Regions from separate parts of the Homo sapiens genome. Here regions 1, 2, 3, 4, 6 and 7 are each linked to region 5. The links are contacts of gene promoters, found by promoter capture Hi-C in human tissues and cell types (Jung and others, 2019). All regions are on one chromosome and are shown on one strand. The core of a region is centred on a gene start or on the middle of the fragment in contact, and the rest is flanking DNA. Distances in the headings are between cores, read along the strand shown. Region 1 overlaps WNK1 (WNK lysine deficient protein kinase 1). Region 2 overlaps WNK1 (WNK lysine deficient protein kinase 1). Region 3 overlaps RAD52 (RAD52 DNA repair protein). Region 4 overlaps WNK1 (WNK lysine deficient protein kinase 1). Region 5 holds the start of B4GALNT3 (beta-1,4-N-acetyl-galactosaminyltransferase 3). Region 6 has its middle 9.4 kb from the start of WNK1. Region 7 overlaps WNK1 (WNK lysine deficient protein kinase 1).

Region 1 (2,700 bases), core at 156-2,655, 390 kb after region 5:
TTTTTTGAGATATAGTCTCACTCTGTCGTTAGGCTGGAGTGCAGTGGCATGATCTTGGCTCACTGCAACCTCCGCCTCCCAGGTTTAAGTGATAACTCCTGACTCAGCCTCCCGAGTAGCTGGGACTACAGGCATGTGCCAACATGCCCAGCTAATGTTTGTGTTTTTAGTAGAGACGGGGTTTCACCATGTTGGCTAGGATGGTCTTTCTTGACCTCCTCGTGATCTGCCCGCTTCGGCCCTCCAAAGTGTTGGGATTACAGGCGTGAGCCACCGCGCCTGGCTGGCTAATGGATTAATTCTAACTTTGACATAGAATTAACATTTCTGTTATTTGAACAAGGAAGGACTCTTAATCTGGTTTATTCTAGATCTGTGATCCTGTGGTCATTTAGTAGGTGTGGAGAACTATTAACCGTTTTTGAGCAGTGTGATTATGAGTTAAATGATACCAGATGATTGGAAATGGTTAAATGTCAGATGCTTAAATGGAGTCAGATGGTAGGAGCTAGCCACAATGTAAAACACAAATTGGAGATGAAGAGAATGGAAATATGAGGCCCATCTTAAACTGGTCTAGGCTTAAAGAGATGAGGTATTAGAAATCAGAACTTTGATGGTTACTTTTGTAATACAAAAACAATGACTTGTGAGGCAGCAAAGAAGCCAGTAAAAACTTTTTTTTTTTTTTTTTTTTGCTTGGTCAGAGATCTTTGGCTGTTGGAGAAGAGTAAGAATACTAGTCACAAAACCATTTCCCAGTTGTTTTTAACTTTATCTTTGTGTTAAGAGCCCATAGAGAATAATAGTAGTACTTAAATATTGTGGGGGAAGAAGCATCCAATGATGACTAAGGTTTCTTCTCTGGACTATGGAAATAATGACACGATTGAAAGAAATAGGGGAAATCCAGAGAAAGGCACTGACTTTGAGAGAAAGAGGAATAAGTTTAGATATGTAAACTGTTATCTGTGAATGGTACTTTTGTTGTAATATATTGAAAACTCTTATTTTGATTTATAGAAAAGGTTGCTCTTTATAGAATCTAGATATTTGTGCCTACATCGTACCTTTGTCTCCTCAAGCCCCCCAAAGCCCCCTCAGTTTGGTTTATTTGTTGCCTAATAGAGTTTTAAAACTACCCACATCTTTATATCTGATGGACCTTTGAGGCAGGACACGTGGCACTTGTTTTCTAGCTCTTTCATTTAGCCAAGCATGGTCCTACACAGGCTTGCTCATACAGTTAAGTTAGAGGTAGGCTGCACTTTTGCAGCACACATTGCTGCATTTCTGAGCAATACCTGACATCCTAGACTACTTAGTAGTAACAAATTGTGTTGAGCCAGAGATTAGTGGTAGTTGCTTTGAGATAGCTTGTTAGAATTAGTAGCATTTCTAACCTTTAGATGTATTACTTCCAAACAGCTTCCAAGCCATTATCTTATGTACTGTTGGTAATTGAAGCCTTAGCATTCACTGTCTTGATCAGGATTCAAGCTTACAAAATTACAAGGGAGAGAGGACTTTAATCTGTTACCCATTACAACAAAGCAATGAGCAATGCTGTTTCTACAATCTTTGTTAATGCCCTGAAGAAAAACTTTCCCTTAATCACTAAAATTAAAGTAGTTTTTATTTGGGTCTATGAGATCTTCCTGGCAAATGGAATGTCTTAATTTTGAGACTTTTATAGGAGGGAGAAGAAGAGGCAAAAAATTTGTACCACTTGTGTACATAAATACTGTTGATTTTTTTTTATTATACCTTAAGTTTTAGGGTACATGTGCACAACATGCAGGTTAGTTACATATGTATACATGTGCCATGTTGGTGTGCTGCACCCATTAACTCATCATTTAACATTAGGTATATCTCCTAATGCTATCCCTCCCCCCTACCCCCACCCCACAACAGGCCCCGGTGTGTGATGTTCCTCTTCCTGTGTCCATGTGTTCTCATTGTTCAATTCCCACCTATGAGTGAGAACATGTGGTGTTTGGTTTTTTGTCCTTGCGATAGTTTGCTGAGAATGATGGTTTCCAGCTTCATCCATGTCCCTACAAAGGACATGAACTCATCCTTTTTTATGGCTGCATAGTATTCCATGGTGTATATGTGCCACATTTTCTTAATCCAGTCTATCATTGTTGGACATTTGGATTAGTTCCAAGTCTTTGCTATTGTGAATACTGCCACAATAAACATACATGTGCATGTGTCTTTATAGCAGCATGATTTATAATCCTTTGGGTATATACCCAGTAATGGGATGGCTGGGTCAAATGGTATTTCTAGTTCTAGATCCCTGAGGAATCGCCACACTGACTTCCACAATGGTTGAACTAGTTTACAGTCCCTCCAACAGTGTAAAAGTGTTCCTATTTCTCCACATCCTGTCCAGCACCTGTTGTTTCCTGACTTTTTAATGATCGCCATTCTAACTGGTGTGAGATGGTATCTCATTGTGGTTTTGATTTGCATTTCTCTGATGGCCAGTGATGATGAGCATTTTTTCATGTGTCTTTTGGCTGCATAAATGTCTTCTTTTGAGAAGTGTCTGTTCATAACCTTTGCCCACTTTTTGATGGGGTTGTTTGATTTTTTTCTTGTAAATTTGTTTGAGTTCATTGTAGATTCTGGATATTAGCCCTTTGTCAGATGAGTAGATTGCAAAAATTTTCTCCCATTCTGTAGGTT
Region 2 (2,803 bases), core at 255-2,754, 370 kb after region 5:
ACTAAAAATACAAAAATTAGCCAGGCGTGGTGGTGCACCCCTGTAATCCTAGCTACTTTGGAGGCTGAGGCCCGAGAATCTCTGGAACCCGGGAGATGGAGGTTGCAGTGAGCCAAGATTGTGCCACTGCACTCCAGCCTGGGTGACAGAGTAAGACTCTGTCTCAAAAAAAAAAAAAAATTCCTTTGTCTTCCATTAAACCATATATTTAAAAAGATTACAAAAATGTAAAACAATACCAGTCTTATCACTAAATTTTTCTTGTTTTGGAAAATACTGACTTTTTAATTTTAAATATATATTTGTAACATAATGAGTTATAATTTTTAATGAATTAACATTTTTAAACTTTCTCAGGTTTACCATCTGCCACGGTAAATATTAATAGATGTAACACACATAGACAAAATCCCTCTGAGGTCCCCAATAATGTTAATTTTAAGAGTATAAAGGGGTCCTGAGACAAAAGTTTGAGAACCACTGTTCAAAAGTCTTGATAAAATTTAGGCTAAACATTTTTTGCAAGGATACTTAATATGTGGTGCTGTATATGTTATATTGCACCGAGAAGCTCATAGTATCTCATTATTTCATTTTTAGTGATGTAATTTAATTGAATTTTGATATAGAAGATGTAATTATCAATTGCTTATTTAGATTTTGATAGCTGAACAGAATGGAAATGTTTATTTTTAATTTTTTATTTATTTATTTATTTTTTGAGACGGCGTCTCGCTCTGTCGCCCAGGCTGGAGTGCAGTGGCGCCATCTCGGCTCACTGCAAGCTCTGCCTCCTGGGTTCACGCTATTCTCCTGCCTCAGCCTCCCAAGTAGCTGGGACTACAGGTGCCCGCCACCACACCTGGCTAATTTTTTGTATTTTTAGTAGAGATGGGGTTTCACTGTGTTAGCCAGGATGGTCTCGATCTCCTGACCTTGTGATCTGCCCACCTCTGCCTCCCAAAGTGCTGGAATTACAGGCATGAGCCAGAAATGTTTATTATTAAAAACTGATAGGAAACATTTTGCTTTAGGTAGACCAAATTTTACCTCTTCATAAAGGCTTGGGAGAAATCTTTGGAGTCAAAGATTAATTATAATTATTTATTGCTGTGAATATTCCTTCAATATCCTTGTTGTATATTTGTATGTGATTCTGTTGTTGATGGATATGGAGCTACTTTGGACAATTAGTTTAATTTCATATGAAGTTTGAGGTTTCATACCCAGTAAAAATGACAGCTATTGTTTATGGAGAAAGTGTGTAACTCTCAAGTTACTTCTGGCTTTGTAATTGGGATGGTATTTTGTCAGTTATTATTATTAGGTGTATGTCTACAAGTGTCTGGCCTGAGGCCTTACTGTTAAATTTATTAACCTCTTCTTAATACTCACCCAGATTCTAATACACAATATAATTGTAATCCCTGAAGCACTGACTCTCAATTTGGGCTGAATGGGGGCAGGAGAAATTTTTTTATGCCTTCAGATGATTCTGATAAGTACCCTAATCATTATTCTACATTTATGCCCTTAGAAAGCTCATCTGCTTTGCCTTTCAGAGTTCTGTATCATCATTCCCAGTTCATGTCTCTTATTATTCCCCTTTCTTCCCCTGATGCGTTGTAATTTACATTCTCTCTTTTTTTTTTTCCTTTGAGCATAGGGTCGACTGTTTATTGGGTAATTTCCTCCTTTATTTTGTTTAAAATTGTAGAAAACTTAAGAGGTATATTTGATTTCTTGTTTTTTACTCGCTGCTTCCACTACTTCCAGTTTATAAGGTTCTTGCTTCAGAATACCTCTTAGATGCAAGCCTTCTTCATTCCCATTGCCACAACTCTGATTTCACATCTTCCTTACTGCACACCTTGCATTATATTCCAGAAGTAATTTACATTGTGAATTTATTTTTTTATTTCACTTAAACTTGTTGAGCTTTCTTGCTATCCTTTCTTGGTATAAGGAACTTAAGATACCAGTTTGCTGATATCAGAGCAAGTACAAATTCTTAATCTTTGCTATTCTTCATCTTCATCCAAGCACTCTATTTTAGTTAAATCAGTTCTCTTCATTATCTCGCACATATGCCACATCCTTTCCTGTATTCCTATCCATTTGTAAATGTTATATAATACTGTACCTCCACTATAAGCTTTTCTGCTATCCAGTCAATCCATATACTTAACGGTCTTCCTCCATGACATTTTATCTGATTGGTTTCACTGTATAATGATCTTTGCCTTTTCTGAGCTGATTCTTCTCAATTGATATGAATGATAAAATTTTGTTTATTAGTGGTTATTCTACTTATAAATTCATAAATTCAATTAATGTACTTGCTTATTATTTTTATTGCTTTATATTCCTTAAAATATTTTAATCTAGTACATCTGTATAATTTCATCCTTATCTGTAGCACTATCCTAAATACAAAATAAATCTCAGTGCCAGTAAATGCAACATTTTCTGAATCCCTGCTATGTCCCATGCCCAGAGCTTGATACTAAGTAAAGGTGAATAATCATATTCCCTGTCTTCAGAAAACTACCTCTAATATAGAAGATTAATATGTAAACAAAGAATTATAATTACATTATGGTGAGTATTGTAATGGAGACAAGCACTAAGGAGAGTGGAGGAACAATGGATAACCCTGCTATGGATTAGGGAAGATTTCACAAAAAGAGCTGTTGTATGAACTGTCAAAAAGAGAAGGTAGAAGAATGGTGAGAGGCCATTCTAAGAAGCAGGAATAGGATTTACATGAATGCTGAGATGCCAAACACCGTAGTACAATGGA
Region 3 (2,700 bases), core at 167-2,666, 470 kb after region 5:
GGCAGGCAGATCACGAGGTCAGGAGTTCAAGACTACCCTGGCCAACATGGTGAAACCACATCTCTACTAAAAATACAAAAAAATTAAGCCCGGGCGTGGTGGCTCACGCCTGTAATCCAAACACTTTGGGAGGCCGAGGCAGGCGGATCACCTGAGGTCAGGAGTTCGAGACCAGCCTGGCCAACATGGTTAAACCCCATCTCTACTAAAAATATAAAAATTAGCTGGCCATGGTGGTGCATGCCTGTTATCCCAGCTACTTGGGAGGCTGAGGCAGGAGAATTGCTTGAATCCAGAGGGTGGAAGTTGCAGTGAGCTGAGATCGCACCACTGCACTGCAGCCTGGGTGACAAAGCAAGACTCAGTCTCGAAAAAAAAAAGAAATAGAACTGGGTGGCATGCACACAGGGGCAATAGGAAATAGGGAGATTTTCACAGTTTCATTTTGAATTTGATGTCATACAAATATGTTATCTATCCCCCCCCACAAAAAATTTAAAATCTAAATCTAATCCCCAGTACTATCAGTCTTTTGATAGCTAACATTCCAAAATGCCCTCCAGAGTTCACAAGACTCCCAAAAAATGCATCTAAAGGAAAAACCAATAACAAATAGCTCACACATGTACTATGTAAACGTACTAGGTACTGCCCCCGCACGCACCGCGTCAACGTACTAGGTACTGCTCACACACGTACTAGGTAAACGTACTAGGTACTGCTCACACACGTACTAGGTAAACGTACTAGGTACTGCTCACACATGTACTACGATGCTCTACAAACTGCCTTGCCCTAACTTTACTCACTTCACCTCATTCTTTCCCGGCATGAAGGAACCACAGTTACCTGTCCAAAGCATAACACTGAGCCGCCGCCAGCAGCAGGATGGCTGTCACGTCCTCCAAGAATTGCTTCCTCAGTCCCAGACATCTTGATTCTGGTTGACCTCTATATAAATAAAAAGCGGAAAAAAAAAACAACCCTCAAAGAATGTTTAAAGTAAAAGGCAAGAGCCTCTACTGAAAAATCACATAAAGAATCCTTATGCGGCCAGGCACAGTGGCTCATGCCTGTAATCCCAGCACTTTGGGAGGCCGAGGTGGGTGGATCACAAGGTCAGGAGATGGAGACCATCCTGGCTAACATGGTGAAACCCCCTCTCTACTAAAAATCCAAAAAAATTAGCTGGGCATGGTGGCAGGCGCCTGTAATCCCAGCTACTCGGGAGGCTGAGGCAAAGAATTGCTTGAACCCAGGAGGCGGAGGTTGCAGTGATCTGAGATCACACCCTGCACTCCAGCCTGGGCGACAGAGCGAGACTCCATTTCAGGAAAAAAAAAAAAAAAGAATCCCTATGCAATACCCTAAGAGTTATTTATAAGCTTCTAAGCACTGCTCCAATCCAGAACAGAGTTCCTCAGTGGTTAGCTGTGGTCTCTCAAGCTGCTGAAGATTCTTTAAGGTCTACTTCTACCTTTCTGTTAACATGTTTGCTATTCTGGCGGTGCTATTAAAGGTGATTTTTACAATAAGAATATATTACATTTAGAACTATAAAATCAAAATTACAAAAAATTCTTTATGGGAAAGCAAACAAAAAATGTACTATAGGTGGAACATTGCTAATCCAAAAATCCAAAATTCAAAATGCTCCAAAATCCAAAACGTTTTGAGTGCCAACATGATGTGTTATAGTCAAAACACAGGTAATGGCCAGGCATGGTGGCTCAAACCTATAATCCTACCACCTTGGGAGGCCAAGGCAGAAGGACTGCTTGAGCCCAGGAGTTTGAGACTAGCCTAGACAACAAAACCCCATCACTACAAAAAATTTAAAAATTAGCCAGGCGTGGTGCTATGCTACTTAGGAGGCTGATGTGGGAGGATCGCTTGAGCTCAGGAGTTTGAGGCTGCAGTGAGCTATGACCACCCCATCGCACTCCAGCCTGGGTGACAGAGTGTCTGACTCTGTCTCAAAAAAAAAAAAAAACAAAAAAAAAGGCAGGCACACAACACACAGTTTATTCAGCTTCTCCAAGAGAAAAATTCAATTATCAGCCAGACGCAGTCACTGACACCTATAATCCCAGCACTTTGGGAGGCTGAGGCGGGCGGATCACCTGAGGTCAGGAGTTTGAGACCAGCCTGGCCAACATGGTGAAATGTCTTTATAAAAATACAAAAATTAGCCGGGTGTGGTAGTGCGAGCCTGTAATTCCAGCTACTTGGGAGGCTGAGGTAGGAGAATCGCTTGAACCTGGGAGGCAGAGGTTGCAGTGAGCTGAGATTGTGCCACGGCACTCCAGCCTGGGCGAGAGTGAGACTCCATCTCAAAAAAAAAAAAAAAAAAAAATCATCTTTAGGCTCTGAAAACAAATGAATTTCATGTTTAGACTTGGGTCCCCTTCCCAAGATATCTGATTATATATATTCAAATATTCCAAAATCTGAAGTCCAAAACACTTCTGGTCCCAAAGCATTTCAGAGAAGCAATACCCAACCTGTACTAGCTAAGAGGGTAACTGGGAGGTGGTGGATATGTGAATTACCTTGACTGTGGTAATCATTTCACAGTGCATTCACATATCAAATCATCACATTGTACACCCTAAATATATACAATTTTTGTCAGTCATACCTCAAAAAAGCTGGGGGGTAGGGAAGAAAAATCAAGTGAATCTGTTTTAAAGTTTAAAA
Region 4 (2,700 bases), core at 96-2,595, 330 kb after region 5:
TCCTTTCCTTTTCTTTCTTTTCTTTTGGAAGGGAACTTAAGTACATCTTCTGGTTCTTTCTGCCTGATCTCTTCCTCTTAATTTTAGAAATGAAGATGTAGAAGTCCAAAGAGGATTTACTTGATGATTTGACTAGAAAAGCTAGGTTTAACCAGGTCTTCTATGGAAATGAATTATAGCTGTAGTGAAAAAATAAGGGAAATGTGCTATGTTTGGATTCTAGAGACAGTTCTCTAGAATAGAAAATCTTCTAAACCCAAGACAGCTTGATATTTGAAAAAGGGGGTATAAAACCTTTTTTTAAGGATTGGCAGATCGTAGTAAATATTGTGGATGTCATAGTACCACAATATATAATAATTAAGTAACATACTTAGAATAGAAATCTAGAAATGTCAGTAACAGAATTTTACTATTTCTCTCACCACACACACACACACACACACACACACACACATACACAAAATTATGAACACATAATAAAGGACTTCCTTATAACTAAGAAAAAGATAATACATGAATAGAGAGGCCTATCTGGAAATTTTCATGTATATGCACAACATTTCAGTGATAACAGAGTGGCTGTTATAAATAATGATCGTAAAGTGCGGTTATAAATTATATCATGTATGTGAAAATTATTTTTTGTACAGTATGGTTCTTTATCTAAAACGTAGATCTTTGCTTTTCTATAATAACATTCTCTTCTAGGTTTCAGCTTATACTTGACGCAAGAGGTTCTTTGAGAGAGCTTCTTTTTTAAAAAAAAAAAAACTACATTTCCTATTACATTTTATATCTAGCCTGCCACCCTAAGATGGAAATCCATTTTAGTTCATCAGGTATTTATTAATGGTTTCACTTTGTGAAAGATATTGAAGAGGGCAGATAAAATTGTCATTTACAGCTTACTTAGCATAGTACATTGTGCTTAAAATATATGACATTAATATAAATGATGCCCTTTCTTGATAATTTTTTTTATCTCTAATCTTAAATTGGGGGATGATGTTTCTTTTTAGCCTTTTTATTTTTATACATATGGTTGTCCAAGAGTCATGTATTAACCCAGGTTTAGAACACATCATAATGTCACTGCCTCCACTTCCCAGACTCCAATAGGGAATAGCAGCTTTATTCTACCCAGGTCCTATCAGAGGGTGCACAACAGATGAGGGGAATTGCAGGATTTCCCAGTACACCAAACTGTTGGTCAGCCTTCCTGCCTTTATTCCCCATGTAGACCTAAATACAGAAACTTTTTAATTATCTTGGTTATACCTAAACATTGCTACTCCCCTACGCTAGCCCCGCAAAAGTGAGAGAGCTTGTCAAGGCAAAGTTTTTTGAAGGAAGAAGCCACATGAAATGAGAGAGGGAAATAATGTATACTGTGAGCTTAGGAAGAGCAAAGGTATAAAGGTGATAGAGAGATTGGCACAGAACTACAGTAGTATATGTATTAGTTCTGATTAATAAATGTTTCAATTTTTATGATACTGTTATTCTTTTTTTTTTTTTTTTTTTTTTGAGGCGGAGTCTCACTGTGTCACCCAGGCTGGAGCGCAGTGGTGCAATCTCGGCTCACTGCAGCCTCCGCTTCCCAGCCTCAAGTGATTCTCCCTGCCTCAGCCTCCTGAGTAGCTGGGACTACAGGCACCCGCCACCACGCCCAGCTAATTTTTTTGTACTTTTAGTAGATGTGGGGTTTCACCATGTTGGCCAGCCTGGTCTAGAACTCCTGACCTCGTGATCCGCCCACCTCAGCCTCCCAAAGTGCTGGGATTACAGGTATGAGTCACCACGCCCGGCTGATACTGTTATTCTTGTAACAAAAAAGCTTACAATGAGGAATACATTTATATTGTTTTGCTTAAGATTAAAGCCATATAAAAAATTTACAGCAGAACCTGGAAGTTCTTTCTTGACCCTAACCTCCTTTACTCCTTTGCCCAGAGGCAACCATATATTTGTATGTATTTCCAATTCTTCATGCTTTTACACAAATATGTACTCACATTAAAAAAAATATATATAAACATATTATTCTATGACTTTTTTTTTCTTTAATTCATAGAGTTCTTAATCAGGTCTAGTGAACTCAGGACAAGAGACACAACTTGGATATAAATACCTTTAAGCCTCTGTTTTCTTCATGTGTAAAATGAGGGTAATGTTTTAGTGTTATTACAAGGTTTAAATGAGACTACATGTGGACACCTTAGCCTGGTAACTAAGTCACGGTAGCTGCTATTATTAATAAACAAGGCTAACATGCTTCTATATGATCCTCCTGTACCTAAGAAATAAACTTATAGCAATAGAGCACAATCAGCCAGCCATTTAATTTTAGAGAATAACATCTTCATGTGGCCTAGTAAAAATGACTGTTACCAAATAATAGGCTTTTTATGATGAATGAATGAGTCAGATGTTTTCTCTGTAGTTTTTAGAATCATTGAGATACCAAATTCTTAGCTGTTTTATGGAAGAACTTTATAAAGTAGAGTTTACTGAAGTTGGGTGACTAGAAAAGCCTATAAAGTTAAAAAGGAGAAAACGTGTTGGTTCTCCTAATTAATGTAAATTAAAACAAGGAGACTGCCCACAAGAGCTAAATAGTAAATTTCGGTCAAAAATAATGATAGTATTTCTTTTTTCAATTGGTAGTAAAACATTGGAAATAATTATTCCAAATGA
Region 5 (2,700 bases), core at 81-2,580:
TTTTTTTTTTTTTTTTTTTGAGACAAGGTCTTGCTCTGTCACCCAGGCTGGAGTGCAGTGGCATGATTGTGGCTCACTACAACCTTACACTCCTCCCACCTCAGCCTCCCGAGTAAGTTAGGACTACAGGTGTGTGTCACCATGCCTGGCTTTTTATGAAGACCATCTGGTGGTAGTGGACAGGATGCGATGGGAAGCTTGGAGTTGGGGAGGCTAATTAGGAAAAGTCCTGTAGAAACTATTGAATATCCAACTGAGGTGAGAACAGAGAGAAGGGAAACATAGTTCTCAATTCTGTGAGAACCTCTGTCTTGGAACAGTACTTGTGTGATATTCATTTGATTTTAAAATGTCCAGGAACACTTTGATCCTTCACTTTTCCCATAGTCTCCTGACCATTTTTCCCAGAAGAGATAATGGAAAAGAAAACTGCAGTATAACTTGCTGAGTGACCTGGGGCAGTTATTCTGCCCCTTGATACTTTATCTAATTTAAATCAGATAATAATGCTTTACCTGCCTGAAGGCAGAGGACTGGAATACTGATTTTTTTTTTTTTGAGACAGGGTCTTGCTGTGTTGCCCAGGCTGGAGTGCACTGACGCAATCACGGCTCACTGCAGCCTTGACCTCCAGAGATCAAGAGATCCTCTTGCCTCAGCCTCTCAAAGTGCTGGGACGACAGCCGTGAGCCACTGTGCCTGGCTTATCTTGCTGATCTTTTCAACTCTAAGAGTGAATACTTTTCTTTTCTTTTTAAAATTCTTTTTCGGAACCCTCAAACACCTACTCTCTTCAAACAGCCATTCCAGCCCAGTCTGGGGAAAACTGCTTGCTGGGGTTCACCGTGGGGGCTGTACGACTTCCCCAGCGCCTCTCGGAGATGTGGTTCAGGCTGGGAAGAAAGGTCTTCAAATCTCAACTGGAAAACGAAGCTATGTCTGCGTTAAGCGTCCAGTGGCTCCCGTGATATTTCACGCCTACTGGTTTCGTCAAGCAGGGAGTCGGGTCGTTGCTGTTGGCGACGAAAGGCTCTGAGGCTAAAGCCTTGGGCGTCGCCCAAACCAGCCTCTACTTCGCTTCTGCCTAAAACCACACCGTTAGGCGCCTGGGTGGTGACTCGGTTTCCCTCGGTCACCCAGAGTCCGCATCATCACTCGCCCCCTCCTCATCCCACCCGTTCCCAGTCGGGGGAGGCACCAGGCACCAGTTCTCTGGCCCCACCTCTCGCTCCCCTAGGGAAGCCGAATGGCCTCTTCGCGTCCCTGGCTTCTCGGGGGCGGAGCCCACCTGTGCCCGGGGCGGGGGCGGGGGCGGGGCCGGGGGCGGGCCAGGTTCCGCGAGCAGGAGAGCCCAGAGCCCGGAGCCCGGTCCGGGGCTGGCGGGGGCGCGGGCGGAGGCAGGCGGGCGGGCGCCGGGGAAGCCTCCTTCTGGGCAGCGAGTGAGGGCGGGCGCGCAGGGAGGGAGGGCGGCAGCGAGCCTGCGACGGGAGAGGCGTGGGGAGGAGAGCCCGGCGCGGAACACACGCGCGGAGGAGGAGCCGGGCTCGGCTCCCGGAGAGACCTGCTGGGCGCCCGCGCAGCCCGGAGACCCCTCGCGCCCGGAGCATGAGCCCGAGCCCCGCCGGAGAGCGGCCGGGAGAGACGGCCTCGGCGCAGCCCTGAGACGCTGGGCCGGGACGCGGGGCGCCCTGGGCGCGGGGCCCGGCCGGGGGGCGGCGGCTCGGGGGGTTGGAGCCCGCGCTGGCGGCGGCCGCCTCGGCGCAGCGCCATGGGGAGCCCCCGGGCCGCGCGGCCCCCGCTGCTCCTGCGCCCGGTGAAGCTGCTGCGGAGGCGCTTCCGGCTGCTGCTGGCGCTCGCCGTGGTGTCTGTGGGGCTCTGGACTCTGTATCTGGAACTGGTGGCGTCGGCCCAGGTCGGCGGGAACCCCCTGAACCGGAGTAAGTAGCACCCAGGGGAGGCGAAGGGCGCGGGGGTGGGCGGCGGCGGCGGCTCCTGCGTTGGGGGGACCCGCCTCTCATCCCATCCTCAGACCCGATTTCCCACCCATTTCTCCCTCAGGTGCCCGGCGTCGCCCCGCGCGTACTCGGGGAGAGCTGCGGGCGGGGGAAGCCGCGGGGCCGAGCGCAGAATTCCCGAGCCCGGGCCTGCCCGCCGGCCACGTGGGTCCGGGGCACCCTGGGGGCTCCTCGCGTCTCCCCTCGGAGAGCGACCCGGAGAGAGGCTCCCCGCCCGTCCCGCCGAGACGCTGGCGGAGACCGGGCCCCTCCAGCCGCTCCGGGCTTGCGGTTCCCGGGGAGGAGGTCCGTGGGGTCCACGCGCGAGCTAGGGATTCGGGTGCGGGATGCCCTCGGCCGTCCACACCCAGGCGCGCGCTCCAGTCCGCGCAGCCCAAACTTTGCCCACCGCCTTCTGTTTGGCTCACTCCGTTTCCTCTCCTGCTGCATCTTCTAGGGGGGTTCTTTTTTACCATACCTCGGAGAGTCCCGTCTCTTCCCCGCTTCCCATACGTCGCTCCTCTCCCAGCCTCCGTCCTCGGCTCTTTGAATCTCCCACCTCCTCGCTGCGCCCTCTTTCTCCTGTTCGGGCCGCCCCTTCTGCCACTTTTCTGAACCCTGAGCAAATCTACCAAACTCCCCAGTTTAAGGAGATGATGGACAGCACAGTGGACCGGGCAGCAGGTAGATTCCTACTTCTGTTTTT
Region 6 (2,700 bases), core at 113-2,612, 280 kb after region 5:
TGCAGTGTCACAATCTCAGCTCACTGCAAACTCCGCCTCCCGGGTTCAAGCACTTCTCCCGCCTCAGCCTCCCAAGTAGCTGGGATTACAGGTGCATGCCACCACGCCCAGCAAATTTTTGTATTTTTAGTAGAGACAGGGTTTTGCCATGTTGGCCAGGCTGGTCTCGAACTCCTGAGCTCAGGTGATTCACTCACCTTGGCCTCCCAAAGTGCTGGGATTACAGGTGTGAGCCACTGCACCTGGCCGAGACTACTATTTAAAGAGTATTATTACTGTCTTAAGAGAATGTATACTTCTATCTACTGAGAAGTATTACCTGCTATAGAGTTTGGCACTCTTTTCCTAATTCCCAGCTATTCTAAGGGAGTCAATTTACCATATCTTCAATTGGTCCAAACACAGGCAGACGCTGGAAGATGATAATATTATTGCTGTTGTTGAATTTGCTAAATACTCTTTTTGGTTACAGAATTAACCTGACTGTAGAGGTTAATTAAGCAAAGTATGTTCAGTAAAATTATCTTAAGATTCAGAAAATTGGCTGGGCGCGGTGGCTAACGCCTGTAATCCCAGCACTTTGGAAGGCCGAGGTGGGCAGATCACCTGAGGTCGGGAGTTCGAGACCAGACTGGCCAGCATGGTGAAACCCCATTTCTACTAAAAATACAAAAATCGGCCAGGCGTGGTGGTAGGTGCCTGTAATCCCAGCTACTCGGGAAGCTGAGGCAGGAGAGTTGCTTGAACCTGGGTGGCGGAGGTTGCAGTGAGCTGAGATTGCGCCATTGCACTCTAGGCTGGGCGACAGGGCAAGACTCCGTCTCAAAAAAAAAAAGATTCAAAAAATTATCACTGAATGTCAAATTATGAATATATAAGTAGCATACAGAATGTGCCTTGATCATAAATGACTAAATAATGTAAGCAAACTCTTAGAGATCATAAGGAGTTGGGAAGCTTGTCCTTCTATTTACTGGTAAGGAGGTACTCAGGTGAACATTATGTTCAGAATCTTTTCAATATCTGTCTTGATAGCTATCCCTATCCCTCCCAACCATCGAAATGGATGAAAATGACCATTGCTTAAAGGTTTTTCAAACTGAATTAGTAATATCATTTTTTCATTTTTACCATAGAGTGTATGTAGACTTTTCAGGTAGGTTTCATATCTCTTGGGTATTGAGACAAATAGTTTGTAAGCAGAATAGGATGCTTTATAGAGTATTCAATAATTCAATATTATGTTTCAATAATTTTGGCACAACTAAATATCATTTTAAAAATCTGATTTCTTGAAGAATAACTTATATACAATAAAAAATTGCCCATTTAAAGTATAGTCAGGGCCAGGTGCGGTGGCTCACACCTGTAATCCCAGCACTTTGGGAGACCAAGTTGGGATAATCATTAACATAGCAAGATCCCCGTCTCTACGAAAAAAAAAAAATTAGCTTGGCATGGTGGTGTGCATCTGTAGTCCCAGCTACTCAGGAGGCTGAGGCCTGAGGATCCCTTGAGCCCAGGAATTTGAGGCTGTGATGAGCTATGATTGCACCACAGCACTCTAGCCTGGGCAACAGAGCAAGACCCTGTCCTTAAAAAAAAAAGTATAATCACCCACTTAATGAGTTTTGAATGAATACAGTCATGTAACCATCACCAAAATTAAGACAGAAAACATTCTCGTGACTCAAAAAGTTCTCTGCGCTCCTCTGCAGTTCATTTCCTCCCCCTCTAACCCCAGAACTGATCATTCTGCCGCCAGTTTTGGGTTTTCTACATGGCCACATAAATGAAATCAGTAGACTTCTGTGTCTGGCTTCTTTCATTTAGCATCATGCTTTGGGAGTTATCCATATGATTGCACATACCACTTCGTTTATTTTTATTGCTGAGTAGCATTCCATCATAAGGGCACAACACAATTTACTTGCCTGTTCACCAGTTGATAGATATTCGGTTTGTTTCTAGTTTTTGGCTATCATGAGTAAAATTGTTATGAAATTTTCCATGCAAGTCTTTGTGTGGACATGTTTCCATTTCTCTTGGGTTAAATATCTGGCAGTGGAATTGCTAGATCATGTGGTAAGTATATGTTCAACTTTAATTATTAGAGAGTCAAGCTATTTCCCAAACTGGCTGAACCACTGTACTCCCGGTAGCAACGTATGAGAAACTAGTTGCTCTACATCCTCACCAACCATTTTTAATTTTAGTCATTTTCGTGGGTATGTGGTGATATTTCATGGTAATTTTAATTTTCACTTCCTTAATGACTAATGATGTACATCTTTTCATGTGCCTATTTATCCTTTCATTTATATTGTTTGGTGAAGTATCTGTTCAAATCTTTTGCACACATTTTTACTGTACTATTATCTTAAGGTTGAATTGTAAGAGTTTCCTATATATTCTGTTTACAAATATTTTTTCAGATATTTGTTTTGCAATATTGACTCCCAGTCTGTGGCCCTTTCATTTTTGTAATATCATCTTTAAAGAACAAACATTTCTGGCTGGGCACGGTGGTTCACACCTGTAATCCCAGCACTTTGGGAGGCTGAGGCAGGAAGATTCCTTGAGCCCAGGAGTTTGAGACCAGCCTAGGTAACACAGGAAGACCTTGTCTCTACTCTGTAAAAAACAAACCAAACAAAAAAGAACACGAACTTCCAATTTTGATGAAGTCCAGTTTAACAA
Region 7 (2,700 bases), core at 171-2,670, 420 kb after region 5:
TCTTAATTTCTGAAAGGGTGCTAAAAGGGATTTCCATGTAACTTGTCCTTTCATGTGGATAGACTTCTACCTTTTCTTCTAAGGGTAACCAACCCTTGAAGTAGGTTAATCTCATTGCAGAAATGAAGTGAAGATCACCTCATTGGTGCATATGCATTATTTAATGTAAATGGGTACGTTACTGACAGCAGTGACAATCCAAAGTTTCACTTCTAGTCTTACCAGTCCAAAATTGATGTAACAGGTATTAGAAATAACAGGTTAAATAAAGGTGCTCTGGTAACTGAACCTATGACATTCCCTAGAATTGTGTCAGCTATGTCTGATATTCTAGGTTTGAAACTATGCTTTATTTTCATGTAGATTTCTGCACTGTTTACTGTGTGGAATGTTTTTTTTTCTTAAGTAGTCCTCCTAATCACTTGAGAAGTACCCTGTAGAAGGTATGCTTTTCTGAATGACCTTTTTTCAACTTTATTTTTGAGTACTGTTGTGCATGTATGTGCACAGTGTATTGTTACCCTAATATTTCATCACATCTGAGATGCTATCAACTTTAAAATGTACCATATTTTATGTACCACATTATCAGTTATAAAGTAGATCCCAATTTCTCACATGTTAAAATGATCAGGTAGTGGAGAGGGATGATTGCATCCTAGAATGAGTGAAATATGTGAATTATACCAATTTTTATTGAGCCATGTTGGACTTAAGAATTTTAGAAATAATACGAATGAAATCTTAATTCCACTGGGAAGGAATTCATTTGAATTTCAGTAACTACTGTAACAGCAGTCGTAACTTTAGTGATAGCATTATGGTATATAAAATATATTCCAATAAAGCTGTTAAAAAAAAAAGCCAACCCCTTGTCTATGGAAGGGTCCTCTTCTATTGCCAAATGCTGAAGCATTAGCAAATATTTCTATGACAAAAGGTGTAGAACAGTAATAGTCTATTTAGCCTCTTTCTCTCCTGCTCTCCTTTCCATATTCTTATGTGGCATATTAACTTAACACTAATGTATGCAGGGTTTTGTTGGTTTGGTGTTTTTTTTTTTGTTTGTTTTTTCCTTCTTTTTGGCTAATACATAAATCTTGCTTTTGGCAGCCTTGCTTTTTTTTTTTTTTTTTTTTTTTTAAGCCTGTCTGTTTTGTTTTTCTTTACCTTCCCAGCTTCCAGTTTCCCAGCCAGTACCAACTATCCAAGGCGAACCTCAGATCCCAGTTGCGACACAACCCTCGGTTGTTCCAGTCCACTCTGGTGCTCATTTCCTTCCAGTGGGACAGCCGCTCCCTACTCCCTTGCTCCCTCAGTACCCTGTCTCTCAGATTCCCATATCAACTCCTCATGTGTCTACGGCTCAGACAGGTTTCTCATCCCTTCCCATCACAATGGCAGCTGGCATTACTCAGCCTCTGCTCACGTTGGCTTCATCTGCTACAACAGCTGCGATCCCGGGGGTATCAACTGTGGTTCCTAGTCAGCTTCCAACCCTTCTGCAGCCTGTGACTCAGCTGCCAAGTCAGGTTCACCCACAGCTCCTACAACCAGCAGTTCAGTCCATGGGAATACCAGCTAACCTTGGACAAGCTGCTGAGGTTCCACTTTCCTCTGGAGATGTTCTGTACCAGGTATTGTGTTAGTTAGCAAAAGAGGGCACCACAGAGTTTGATCCTAGTAGATCATCAGGAACATGGAAATCTAATAGTTGAGTGTCAGAATAACTAGCAATAACATGTCAACTAGAGAAGCAAAATAGTAAAATTCTGAGAAAGGATTGGATAATGATGTTCAGTGATTCCTGATCCATTTTTCTCAAGACACTTCTTCAGAGAAAAATGGTTCTCTCAGTATTCACTGTAAGCTGATTGAATGCTAGATGTGGTTAATAGTACACCTGGCAACTTTTACATATATGGGTAGAATAAATAGAATAGCCAACATGGTATCAACAAAAAGCTTCGGGGTTTAGACTGGGAAAATTAGCATTTCATGATATGACTGTTATGTGGAAGAATTTTTGCATTTTTCCATTTAAGATTGGCTAGGAAGAAATTGTGTTCCTCCTATTTAAATCATCTCTAGGTGAAGATAACCGACAATAAAGTAGTATTGTAGAGTCCTGTCTCTTCTGTTGGAACCAGTCTACTACTTCATTTCAAGAATGTGGTCTTTATATGCCCTTTAGATTATTAGAAAGAGATTGGCTACTATTCTTCTTTGCTGTGTGCTTCTTTTTTTTTTTTTTGCATGTCTTGCTGTTTTGCTAATTTATTGACCCCCAACCTGCTCTAACTCACCTTCCTCATTTCTGTCACAGGGCTTCCCACCTCGACTGCCACCACAGTACCCAGGAGATTCAAATATTGCTCCCTCTTCCAACGTGGCTTCTGTTTGCATCCATTCTACAGTCCTATCCCCTCCCATGCCGACAGAAGTACTGGCTACACCTGGGTACTTTCCCACAGTGGTGCAGCCTTATGTGGAATCAAATCTTTTAGTTCCTATGGGTGGTGTAGGAGGACAGGTTCAAGTGTCCCAGCCAGGAGGGAGTTTAGCACAAGCCCCCACTACATCCTCCCAGCAAGCAGTTTTGGAGGTAAATAGAATTACTGCATGTTTATATGTAAAACGTATATATGTAATTGGACAACAATGATAAAGGAGAAAGAAACAGGCTCCCCTGGTTTAGAA

What was found. The method cuts DNA at HindIII sites, captures the fragments that hold promoters and counts their contacts. A contact is called where the count stands out against the background at its distance.
Region 1: a fragment that was not itself captured here is called in contact with the fragment with the promoter of B4GALNT3 in region 5 in 2 of the 25 tissues and cell types used here (dorsolateral prefrontal cortex and lymphoblastoid cells).
Region 2: a fragment that was not itself captured here is called in contact with the fragment with the promoter of B4GALNT3 in region 5 in 1 of the 25 tissues and cell types used here (dorsolateral prefrontal cortex).
Region 3: a contact is called between a fragment that was not itself captured here and the fragment with the promoter of B4GALNT3 in region 5, in 3 of the 25 tissues and cell types used here (dorsolateral prefrontal cortex, mesendoderm cells and spleen).
Region 4: a contact is called between a fragment that was not itself captured here and the fragment with the promoter of B4GALNT3 in region 5, in 1 of the 25 tissues and cell types used here (dorsolateral prefrontal cortex).
Region 6: a fragment that was not itself captured here is called in contact with the fragment with the promoter of B4GALNT3 in region 5 in 1 of the 25 tissues and cell types used here (heart right ventricle).
Region 7: a contact is called between a fragment that was not itself captured here and the fragment with the promoter of B4GALNT3 in region 5, in 2 of the 25 tissues and cell types used here (dorsolateral prefrontal cortex and lymphoblastoid cells).

The regions. Positions count from the first base shown.
Region 1 is chr12:847,820-850,519 of GRCh38, forward strand. All of the region lies in intron 4 of WNK1 (WNK lysine deficient protein kinase 1), which reads left to right. Among named protein-coding and RNA genes, the nearest start is that of WNK1, 97 kb to the left of the region's middle. The HindIII fragment of the contact is 6,164 bases long and covers 1-2,700 here.
Region 2 is chr12:831,373-834,175 of GRCh38, forward strand. The region is part of intron 4 of WNK1 (WNK lysine deficient protein kinase 1); the gene reads left to right. Among named protein-coding and RNA genes, the nearest start is that of WNK1, 80 kb to the left of the region's middle. The HindIII fragment of the contact is 7,038 bases long and covers 1-2,803 here.
Region 3 is chr12:932,126-934,825 of GRCh38, forward strand. RAD52 (RAD52 DNA repair protein) reads right to left here. Exons shown (of 12, transcript NM_134424.4): 2 at 850-951. The coding sequence starts at 933. It overlaps LOC124902855 (a long non-coding RNA gene), which reads left to right. Exons shown (of 2, transcript XR_007063155.1): 1 at 1-680; 2 at 716-2,700. Among named protein-coding and RNA genes, the nearest start is that of RAD52, 16 kb to the right of the region's middle. The HindIII fragment of the contact is 6,084 bases long and covers 1-2,700 here.
Region 4 is chr12:790,801-793,500 of GRCh38, forward strand. The region is part of intron 1 of WNK1 (WNK lysine deficient protein kinase 1); the gene reads left to right. Among named protein-coding and RNA genes, the nearest start is that of WNK1, 40 kb to the left of the region's middle. The HindIII fragment of the contact is 7,452 bases long and covers 1-2,700 here.
Region 5 is chr12:458,609-461,308 of GRCh38, forward strand. It overlaps B4GALNT3 (beta-1,4-N-acetyl-galactosaminyltransferase 3), which reads left to right and starts at 1,331. Exons shown (of 20, transcript NM_173593.4): 1 at 1,331-1,937. The coding sequence starts at 1,769. RefSeq lists an enhancer at 499-1,482. The HindIII fragment of the contact is 8,839 bases long and covers 1-2,700 here.
Region 6 is chr12:741,838-744,537 of GRCh38, forward strand. No RefSeq gene overlaps it. Among named protein-coding and RNA genes, the nearest start is that of WNK1, 9.4 kb to the right of the region's middle. RefSeq lists an enhancer at 1,519-1,638. The HindIII fragment of the contact is 8,426 bases long and covers 1-2,700 here.
Region 7 is chr12:878,395-881,094 of GRCh38, forward strand. WNK1 (WNK lysine deficient protein kinase 1) reads left to right here. Exons shown (of 28, transcript NM_018979.4): 11 at 1,179-1,637; 12 at 2,327-2,605. Among named protein-coding and RNA genes, the nearest start is that of RAD52, 70 kb to the right of the region's middle. The HindIII fragment of the contact is 5,036 bases long and covers 1-2,700 here.